Linked DNA regions of Homo sapiens: region 1 is linked to region 2. The links are contacts of gene promoters, found by promoter capture Hi-C in blood cells and fetal thymus (Javierre and others, 2016). All regions are on one chromosome and are shown on one strand. Each heading gives the region's core, a stretch centred on a gene start or on the middle of the fragment in contact. The rest is flanking DNA. Distances are from core to core; before and after follow the strand shown.

Region 1 (5,553 bases), core at 884-3,383, 400 kb before region 2:
GCAAGGCCAAGGTTAGCTGTCCGTGGCCATCAGAGTGTGTGAAACGTTCAGCCTTCCCCTCCCCACCCACATTGGTCATCTTTGCAAACGCACTGGACAGCAAAGAGCATCCTCAGATGTGGCGCATCCCACGCTAATAAGGACCTTGTAGCCTGCGGTTGTTAATACTTTAATGAGTAAGTACACAAAGAGCTTTATTATAAGCGATGGAATGGACTTAATTAATCCATAACTGTAGACAGTTAATGCATAATTATACACCTAGAAAAAACACACATCCGAGAGCCTGGATCCTAGCATCTCTGTTTGGCCTTGCGAGTCTCTCCTCATCTCTAGGTCTCATCGCTGCAAATTGAGGGGGTTGGGCTGGAAACCACTGGCTGAGGTCTCTTCCTTCTCTGTTAGTTTTTGTTGAGGCCCTATGTTGGTGCATAGGGATATCCATCTATCTAGGGCTGCTGTGACAAAGTACCAAAAACTGGGTGGCTTGAAACAACAGACATGAATTATCTCACAGTTCTGGAGGCCAGAAGTCCAAAATCGAGGTGTCCCACGGGGCCATGCTTTCTCGGGCAGCTCCAGGGCAGACTCTGTCCTTACCTCCCCCGGTTTCTGGGGTTTGCCTTGGTGTTCCTGGGTTTGCACATGACTGTCTTCTCCCTGGGTCTTCACATCGTCTTCCCTGTGTGTATGCCTGTCTCCGTGACCAAACTTCTGCTTATTATAAGGACACCAGTCATACTGGATTAGAATCTCCATCCCCAGTGACCTCGTTGGACTTCATTATCTCTATAAAGACCCTGGCTCCAAATAAGGCCACATTCTGAGGGAATGGGAGTTAGGACTTCAACAGAGCTTTTGGGGGAGGGGATACAATTCAGTCCAAAACAGGGACTATGGTGAAGAATAGGTGATATTTGAAAGGCCCTATAATGACAGACCCATGAAGTATGCATGCTAGCGGGTCATACCACTGAGGTTCTAGGATAAAGTTACAAGTCTGCAAAGACGCCATAATAACACATAAACAATTCTGTCGTGGGAAAGTGCATACTGCATGTTGTAATTTTACAGAGAAAAGTGAAGAGCATAACCCAAATGAGCTTCATAACCCAAATTACATTAAATGCACGACATTTAATCATTTCCTGTGATCATTGATACAGACAATCAAATGGAGTTTAAACCAAAAAGAAATCCAGTTTCTGTTGTTGTTGTTGTTGTTGTTTGCTAAAATGGTACAACAGAAGTTTATTATTGTGCTACTAAAAATTTAGAGAACTCTCTTACATCATAAGAACTAAGAACTCTTTCACATATTAAATGCAAAGAAAATGTATATATTAAACTTTCACAAAATGAGATTCACACCCCTTCTCGGGAATACAAGCATTCATCACCTAGATAAGGCCACCTCATCTTTGCTCGTCATTACCAACAAGGCCCATCCATTCTTTTGTGTTTTAACCAGAACATTCATGGCCCAGCAGGTGCTGCTTCAGTTCCTGACATGGTTTCTCAATGAACAGCGTCAGGGCCAGCCCAGTGACGAAGGTCAGCACACGGTGTCCAGAGAAAAGATAGAACTGGAGAGAAAGTGGGCAGGGTGAACACAGTTTTACTCTGGGATTCCTATTGTGTTCAGATCTAAAGTGTACCATCCTAGCTCTATGAAATGCATCTGTAGGACAATCAGTGCTACATATTAAAAATAAAATAAATAAAATAAAAGATATTATCCTGTGCTGAAGCCCTCCCTCTTTCTGCCACAAATAAAGCAAAGAACAATGAAGCTCTTAAAAAAAAAAAAGACTTCCACGAAAGCAAATAGGTTGCCTTGTTGCTCAAGAAGAGAACAAGCTATGATACCATAACCTACCGTAACAGAACTAGGAGCTGCGTGCTAACTCACCATGTTGGTGTCAGTGTGGTGAATAAGTGTTTCCTGAAGGCCATTGTAAAGGATGATCAGAATCGGATGCACCAAGTAGCGAGCATAACTGATGCTGGACAGGAAACTCCAGATGTCCCAAGAAAGCACACGGTTCACCAGACCTGGAGGGAACAAGCACTGATGCATGAAGCCACAGCCTGTCTCTGGGCCAGTGAAGATGCCCATCATCCCATCGATGCTCCCATTGCATTCTGTGCCTAAGTCTGTGAACTTTTCCTAAGAAAGTCTTTATGCGTTATCATTTTAAGACAATGTACCAAACCAAAAACCACCTTTCTGTTGCAAGAATTATGATAACACAAGAGAGATACATGGTTTCAGCCCCTGAGCATAAAACATTGCATGTATAAAACAAGGTAAAAATTCCTCATATTCACCTGGGTTCTGGATCAAGATGCAGCCACAGGGGGGCGTTGGGATAAGGCATTTAACATTGCCAGGCCTCAAACTCTTCTGTCAGTGAGAGGCTTGCATTTGTAGGTGCCTTTCAGGACAAATATTCTGTAACTTGGTATATATTCTAGAACTGTGTTGTCCCAGACAATAGCCCCTAGCCACTTGTGGCTATTTAACTTAATTAAAATTAAATGCAATGAAAACTTCCTTTCTGAATAGGACTTATTGCTATCTCTAGTGAGTTGCATAGTGATCTTTCAAAAGATATGTCCACCCAGAACCTCAGAATGTAACCTTATTTGGAATAAGGGTCTTTGCAGATGTCATTAAGAGAAAGAACTAGAGATGAGATCATCCTGGATTAGGGTGGACCCTAAACCCAATGACAAATGTCCTTATAAGAGACAGAAAAGGAGACACAAATGCAGAGGAGAGACACAAGGAAGAGAACCATGTGATGACGAAGACAGAGACTGGAGTGAAGAGTCCATGAGCCAAGGAATGCCAAGGCTTGCCAGCAGCTACCAGAGGCTAGGAGAGGGGATGGGACAGATTCTCCCTCAGAAAATCCAGATGGAACCAACCCTGCTGACACTTCGATTTTGAACAGCTAGCCTCCAGAACTGTGAGAGAAAAAAATTTCTGTTGTTTTAAGCCACAGATATAAAATATAACTTCTGTTTCTCCTTTGCACAAGCCTCATTAAAAGTGCTCAGTAGTGAATCACAATTTGCTCAGGATAAATCTTTGGAGCCTTCCCAGACTCCTTTCATTCCAGACTCCATAGAGTGCTTCCAAAAATATGTCTCAAATCAGACCATTGCTCCTCACCTCCATGGCTAACACCCTCGTGAATCTTCCATCACCTCCTGCGTGGGCCTCCATGGTAGCTTCCCAGTGGATCTGTTGGTCTCTGCTCTTGTTCTTGCCACCTTATAGTCCCCACACCACATCCAGAGTAATCTTTTAAAATCACATATCAGGGAGAAATGGGGAAGGGGGAGATATTGATCAAAGCGTACAAAGTTTCAGTTAAACCGATGGAGTAAGTTTTAGTGATCTATTGCACTGCATAGTGACCACAGTTAATAATAATGTACTGGATATTTTTCAATGGCTAAAAGAAAAGATTCTTAACATTCTTACCACAAAAAAGAGATAACTTGGTGAAGTGATGCCTATGTTAATTAACTTGATTTCATCTTTCTACTAGGTATACATATACCAAAACATCACATTGTACCCCATAAATACAGTTATTATTTGTCCATTTGAAAATAAATTTTACAAATCCACAAATCAAATCATGGGCTATGATCTGAGTGTTTACATTCCCCCAAAATTCATATGTTGAGATCCTAATCCCCAAGGTGTTAGTATCAAGAGGTGGAGTCTTTGGAGAGGCAATTAGTTCACGAGGGCTGGGCCTTCAGGAATGGTATCAGTGCTCTTATAAAAGCGACCCCAGAGAGACAGCCCTACCCTTCCGCCATGTGAGGACACATCTAGAAAGTTCCAGCTAAGAACCAGAAAGCAGGCCTTCACCAAACACTAAATCTGCTGGTGCCTTGATCTTAGACCTCCCAGCTCCAGAACTGTGAGATATAAATTTCTGTTGTTTTTAAGCCACCTCATTTATGGGGCTTTATTTTTGTTATAGTAGCTGAAATGGACTAAGACTTCATGTGATGTGGCATTTAAAATAAAATCCAAACTCTTCCCATGGCCTTGAAAGCTCTGCCTAACCTGGGTCCTACCCTCCTCTCTGAGTTCCCTTCCCACCTCTCTCTCCCCCTTGACCCTTGGTTCCTATCTCACTGGTCATTTTGCTCTTCCTCCAAGCCACTAAGCTCGTTCCAGTCTAGAGACCTCTGCCTTCACATTCCATCTGCCCAGAATGCTTTCATACCACATCTTTGCAAATGTACCCCTAGTCCAGTTAGTTACCCACTAATCCCTGCTTTATCTTTATTCACTATATTTAAACTTCCCCCGACCCTACTGTAATCTCTCGCAAGGGAAGGATTTTTCTTGTCTATTGCTGTATCCCCAGATTCTAGAACAGTACCTGGCATAGAATAAGCATTCAAGAAGTATTTTATGTAATTAAGTGAATAAACACAGATGGACTTACAGACAAAAGACGCTTTTCCCCCAAGTGAAGGCTATAAAAGGTAAACCACAGTTTCACTGTAGAACAAAACAAAGTAATTGTAGAAGAATGAAGTCAGCAAAGAATCCATGCTCACGCAGATAAGCCAAACACAAAAGAACGCGCCCTAAAGCAAACAATACTGTGTTCATATTATGAGCCACAGGTGATTCCAGCAACTGTTCATCATATCATATTAATGTTGCTAATGCAGATTTTATTGGTTTTATAGTTTTATGATTACTTCATAAATTTGTTTTGGCTTTCTGAATGCATGTGCTATAAACATAAAATTTTGTATCTAGGTTTATGTTTGTTCATGTTTAGGCAAAATTGGACCAAAAATAAGAGCAGATAGTCAGGGTAACTTGAATCTATGTTCCCAGGAAAAAAAAAGCATTGAAAAAATAAGAATAAAAATAAGTTGAGCCAACACCAAGAATCCAAAATAATTCTTATTTCTTTAGAATAGGCCCACATATACTTAAGTTTGAGGACGAAAGCTGTAGGTGACAGACCACCACTGAAGGGCTTTAACTGAAGGAGTAATGTGGTCAGATGACTCTGGCAGCTCAACAGAAGACAACTTTGAGCATAACAAGACCAGCATGGTCAACATTGCTACCAAGCAAAGATGGTTAAATATTCATTGAATCATCAAGATCCTTTCTAGTCCTGAAAGTCTCAACTAAACATTTCTTCTTATTCAAACTCTTATTTTTTTCTAAAGATCATCAGCTAGACACTTTTTTATTTTTCGAGACAGGGTGTCACTCTATTGCCCAGGCTAGAGTACAGTGGCCTGATCTCGGCTCACTGCAACCTCCGCTTCCCAGGTTCAAGCAATTCTCCTGCCTCAGCATCCCAAGAAGCTGAGATTACAAATGCGCACCAGCATGCCCAGCTAATTTTTGTATTTTTAGTAGAGACAGGGTTTTGCCTTGTTGCCCAGGCTGGTCTTGAAATCCTGGGCTCAAGCGATCCACCTGCCTCGGCCTCTCGAAGTGCTGAGATTACAGGTGTGAGCCAGGTAGACACATATTTTCCAAAA
Region 2 (5,762 bases), core at 2,012-4,511:
CACCAGAGAAAAAATACCTTTAGGACCTTCTAGTATCACAGATCTTCTCCCAACAGCATGAAATCACTTTACAATAACTTTTTTGTCTTAAATAGAGTAAGCATCCCCAGCTGACCTTGCTTCACTGTCCAGCCCCCAAGCTCCCAGTGCTGTTTTTTGAAAAAAAGTCCGTTTAATTCTTCTGATCTCCATAGGGATGAGCTTAACGTTCCCAAATTCTCCAACCCTTCTCACCCCAGCCAACCTCCTCAAAACTAATCTTTACCATCTTGAAAGACAGGTGAAACTCATCTGCCTCTCATCAGACTTCCCACCCCAAATTCTCAGATTCCACAACTGCATGCCCTTTGTGCTTGCCACCTCTTGTTAGGCAACTGTCCCCTTCTCTCTGTGTGACTCCACAGAAAAGTGGCCTCAAATATTTCCTTTAGTTCCCCCAAACAAAGCTAAGACCATTTTGTAGCCTTTAACAAAAACTGACTGAAGGCAGGCGAGGAAAACACAACACCCAACATCAAGTATCCGCTGCTTTTGGATTCCAGCAGCCACGCTTCTTCCCTGGCAGGGCCTTGCTGACTTTCTTCTCTCTCCTTCATGGCCATGTAGGAGTCCTCCATACCTGGCTTTCTTCAGGAAGCCCAGAACCTTCCCTAACCAGAGTACTCGTTAGCACCGTAATACTCTGGAGATCTGCCCCCAAAGACAATTTTTTACATTATGGTAAGTCCAGAAATTCAAAATTTTATGTACCTAGCATAACAATATTTTGTATTTGTTTTTTTTGCATATCCAAAAGCCCAACGTGTTTTTCCTAGAACAGAAAAAAATTATGCCACTTCTCTGCTAGGCCTTGCTAGTTATTCCCTCCTCACATCATTACTCCTTTGCACAAGCAATAATCCCAAGTCACTATTATCCTTTGCCTCAATCCCAAACTCTGAAACAAGAGTTGTCAGGAGGGTTTAAGAAAATAATGTGGCCAGGCAGGGTAGCTCATGCCTGTAATCCCAGTACTTTGGAAGACTGAGGCGGCTGGATCACCTTAGGTCAAGACCAGCCTGGCTAACACAGCAAAACCCCGTCTTTACTAAAAATACAAAAAAATTAGCGGGCTGTAGTGGCGCACGCCTGTAATCCCAGCTACTCAGGAGGCTGAGGCAGGAGAATTGCTTGAACCTGGGAGGCGGAGGTTGTAGTGAGCCACGATCACACCACTGCACTCCAGCCTGGGCGAAAGAGCAAGACTCCATCTCGGAAAAAAAAAAGATAATGCAAAAATAAGAAGAATAAAGAAGAATGAAGCAGCAGCAGCAGCATGTAAACATTTAGTATATTTTGTGGTACATACCATGTCCTCAATAAAAGATAAAAATCCATTATCATTCATACCCAACACAGCATTTAATATGTTATTGTAAAGGTCCCCAAATAATAGTCCATTCCTGGATAAACCCTTATGATTAGGAATTGAATATTTGTTAGTTTTTTATCTTCTAAAATTTCTAGCAAATAATAAGCACTTAATAAATACCATTTTGAATGAATGACTTTCCTCTCATCAAGTATTTACTAACCTCTATACATAACAGAATATTAAGAGACAGTTTTTGTTCTTAAGGCATTTATAAAGATGTGTACAAATAATTATACTGTAAGACAAATCTTTGTCATTTGAGAAGTTCAAAAAACTGCTAAGGGGTTCAAAGGCAGGCCAAAGTTACAACAATGGTATAAAGTAATGGTTCTAAGTGGGGTCTGGGAACCCCTAGTGCAGTTCCTGAGACCCTTTCGCGGGGTCCACAAGGTCATAAAGATTTTTCATAACAATATTAAGACTTTATTTAGCTTTTTCATTCATTCTTTCAGGAGTGGACACTGCAGTTTCCAGCGTTCTGTGACCTGTAATAGTGCGACAGACTGAATGCAGAAGCACATAAACGAATCCAGCTCTGTGATTAAGCCAAGACATTAAAGAGATCTTCAAAATGAAAACCAATGCCACTTCTCTAATAGACTTTTTTGTTTTGGAAAATTTGTTTTTCCACGAAAGTATTATTTCTGTTACCATATAATGGGTTATTCTTTTTAAATAAATTAATATTTTTTAAATGTCTTAGCTTTAATTTCAAAGGTGGTAAATATCAGTATGTATTACATGTATGTATTATCTCTAACCCACATAAGAGCTCTCTGGGGTCCTCAATAATTCTTAAGAGGGTAAAGGAGTCTCGAGACCAAAACTTCAGGAACCCTAATACAGCCATTCCAAACCTAACAAGGAAAATAGTTTTACTTCGAGTTTCATGTTCATGGTGAAGTCAAGAAGAGAACGTGGTAACCTGGTTTGATGGAGGGAGATGATGAGTTCGGCGTCAGTCTTTCCCAATACCTTGCAAAATGTTCATGAATTCCTGCACCCCACCCTCTGCATTCATCACCTCGCCTGCGCTTCTTCCCAGCCTTCCTTAGGTCTCCCAGAGCAGTGTCCACATCCCTTTCTTTTGCATTTTAAGTCCTCTGGATGACTGCCCCATCCTAGGGGTCCCCTGACAGCTTTCCTTCTCTCACTATCCTCCGGGGTCAACCTCGACTTCTCCCTTTCACCAGGGGCGGGGGTGGGAACAGGGAGCGAGGCAGCCGCTGGGCCACTTTTGCCTCCACCCTCCAGAGCCCTGGGCCCCGCTCTCAAACCCCAGGCGTTCCGGGGAGCTGCTGAGTTCCGCTCCGCCTCAATGACCGAAGTCCTCCCCACCTCCGCTCACTCACGCCGGCGGCCCCCGCCGCGCTCAGCCCCACCGACAGCGCCCCCACCTCCCCACCGCAGCCCACCCCGCTCGACCCGCGCGCCCGGCCTGCCGCGGCCCTGAGCTCACCTGAGGCGGAGGCGCCCGCGACTCCCCGCCAGCTCCGCCAGTCTCCTCCAGCCCCGGCCCTCGGGCGCCTGATCCAGGAGCTCGCTGAGCCTCCGCAGCAGCGGCTCCCGCAGGCGGTTGAGGGTCGCGCCGGCCGGAGGGGCGAGCAGCGGCCCCGTGGGGGCGGCCGAGGGCGGCAGGGCCTGTAGCGGGTCCCCCAACAGCGACATGGCCCTCGCCGGCGACCCCGGACTGCCGGGGCTCCCGCCCGCCCCGTCACGGGCCTCGGCCCCGGGGCACCTTCCGCTCGCCTCCGAGCCGCGGAGGCAGGGGCGGAAGAACAAATCTGGCAGCGCGGCACGGCCCTCAGAGGAGGAAGCTCCGCTCCCCGCCCCAATTAGACAGGTTTGCCGAGGGGAGCCTGGCCTGCTGGCCGCGCCAGCCGCGCAAAGGGGCGGGGCACCCGGGGGGCGGGGCACGGAGCCTCGAGGGGCGGGACCTTGGGCCTCGAGGGGCGGGGCGGGGCTGCCTACTGCGTGCGTGCGGCTGCGCGCCTCCCTCGCCCTCCCCCGCGGTCCCGGGCTGGCCGTGGCGCGCGCTTCAAACCCAGCCCTCCCGAGCAGGAAAGGACGGGTGGGTGCAGCTGGAGGAGGAAGCGGTGGAGGAATTACGCCCCGGCAGCTCCTCTACGGCGGGGAAGCCTGCGGCGTCTGGGCTTCCTGAGACCGTGGGAGGAGGCCTGCGTACTCACGCCAGAGAGCGGGGCAAGCGGTTCTCAGTCGCCGGCTCCCGCCCGCAGTCCCCGGCGAGCGCTCTCCCCTGACTCAGGGACTTTCATGTGCCCGGCGACACACCAGCATCCTGCAGTGGGCAACCTCAGCGGACGCTTCCTCGTTTTAGGGTTAGATGTGTATGGCATTGCTAGAGGGAAGTAGTGCTGGAGATCCGGATACTTGAGTTGGAATTGGCCAAAATCTTTGCCTAGACTTTTAAACAATTACTACTTTGCAAACTGAGCTGTGGCATATTTAGGGCTAATCAGATCTTGGAAATGATTGTTTTTAGCAGGAATCATCTGGTTTACACCGCGTCAGACTGCCGCCCGCAATCTCCGTCATCAAAGCAGGCAACCCTGTAGAGGATGCCTTTCCCTGGAATGATCCGGAATGGACGACACCTGAGCTCTCTCTGCCAATCTTAGCAACATCCAAGGCCATTATCCCTTTGAAAACTATGGCTTCGTTTGGGACAAAAAGGAAGTAACTTACGAAATGTGACCAGTCAGGTAGTTCCCTACACGAGGCTTCCTGGCCCAATTTCTGTTGCCATTAGCTTTTCATCACCCAAGGCCGCAGGATTTTCTGACCAGTAATTTGGATACCTATATTCTTATACATGTTGGCGAGGTAGGTGCGCCATACAGTCTCCACCACATTCTAGCACAAGCAGTCATTAAACTTCACTCTAGCATAAGTTAAGAATTCAGACTGCAGTGAGATGGCTAAGAGCATGAAAGATCTGCTCGATTCAAGTGTTAGGAGCTTGAATAAGTTTCTTAATTTCTCTGCCTCATCTATTAACACAGGACTGACAATACAGTTTATATAGAGTTGTTGCCAGAATTAAAGGAGTTGATGTATGTGAAGCACTTAACTCGGTAACTGGCACATCGTAGATGACTCAGTAAATGCTATTACCCTTACACATACAAGTGCCGTTTCATACTCAGTTTGACTTGGCAAGCCTTTCCCAACCGCTTCAGGTGCCTTCCTGTTTTGTCCTCAATTACTGTACAAATATTTTCTGAGGATCTGTTACCTGCATGTGCCAATTATGGAAATAAAATCTTCTAGTCTTTACTGGAATCCTGCCTTTTAATTTAAATTCAACAGAGGTCTTCTAAATTTAGACTTCTTAGAAAAGTCTGCCATGTACAAAGCGTTGCTTATGCAACCTCTCGTGTGCATACGAGTTAAATGGGTGCCAGTGTTATTTACTCTTAGCCAATATAGCTCAGCTGGGCACTGTTTTGACCTCGAGTTGTACGCCCCCACCCTGGCTTCCCAAGTGACTGCCTCCCTCGTTTTACCCTACTCCCAACCTTTTTTTCCACCTAGCAATTTTATACCCTATCCAGTCACTACCCGCCACCCTCCATCCTCTACCCAAACTGACATTACCTTTTTTGACTGGTCTTTTTCTCTCCTCAATCAAATGTTAATATTTCTATGACATAATTTCACTCCTGTGGTTCTCTTATGGGCATAATGGTATAGTAGAATGTGACCTTTAAAGTTAGTCCTGAATTGGAAACTTGATGTTGCTGCCACTTACTAGTCTAGTGGTGGAACTTAGGTGATCTACTTAACCTCTCTGAGCTTCAGTTTCCACACCTGTAAAAAGTGGAAAATAATAGTACCTAATAGTGTTATATAGCGTCAGGGAGAAGTATGTGCATTGTATATTAGTACTCTTAAAACTGCTACATCAATTTTGGGAACAATGTAAATAGTAATTCAGCTTTCTTTTCTATATTAACCGTTATGTTTATATAAAGATAGGAGAAAAATTGGGGGTAAAGATCTGGCTTTTAAATGTCCCTTAAAAGTTCATGCATGTCTATAGATAATAGCCTTGGGAGTTCTTCCTCATTAGTTCAAAGTGAAATAGATCTTTGTAAATCCAGACAATTGGCAGGAAGCTTGTGGTTTCAATATATGGAACTCCATTGATGTAATCTTCAAAGCACTCATAGGTCTGGAAACTGACTCATAGGATTTTTTTCCTTTATACAGTTTAACTATAGATGGTACTCCAACTAAAAAAAAAAAAAACGCCAGAATGATATATTATTTCACAGTTGGACAGGGTTTAAAAGACTCAGTGCAGGAGAAAACCTGCTGGTCCTTG

What was found. The method cuts DNA at HindIII sites, captures the fragments that hold promoters and counts their contacts. A CHiCAGO score of 5 or more calls a contact.
Region 1: a fragment that was not itself captured here is called in contact with the fragment with the promoter of MALT1 in region 2 in 1 of 17 cell types (total B cells); the score reaches 6.2 in total B cells.

Annotation. Positions count from the first base shown.
Region 1 is chr18:59,064,874-59,070,426 of GRCh38, reverse strand. It overlaps the pseudogene OACYLP. Among named protein-coding and RNA genes, the nearest start is that of SEC11C, 72 kb to the left of the region's middle. The HindIII fragment of the contact is 8,599 bases long and covers 1-5,553 here.
Region 2 is chr18:58,668,964-58,674,725 of GRCh38, reverse strand. It overlaps MALT1 (MALT1 paracaspase), which reads right to left and starts at 3,261. Exons shown (of 17, transcript NM_006785.4): 1 at 2,874-3,261. The coding sequence starts at 3,082. MALT1-AS1 (MALT1 antisense RNA 1) reads left to right here and starts at 2,853. Exons shown (of 2, transcript NR_164150.1): 1 at 2,853-3,257; 2 at 3,918-4,717. LOC105372146 (a long non-coding RNA gene) reads left to right here. Exons shown (of 4, transcript XR_935537.3): 4 at 1,867-2,113. It overlaps LINC03110 (long intergenic non-protein coding RNA 3110), which reads right to left. Exons shown (of 4, transcript NR_187442.1): 4 at 5,378-5,670. RefSeq lists a silencer at 2,733-3,522 and an enhancer at 3,683-3,942. The HindIII fragment of the contact is 13,202 bases long and covers 1-5,555 here.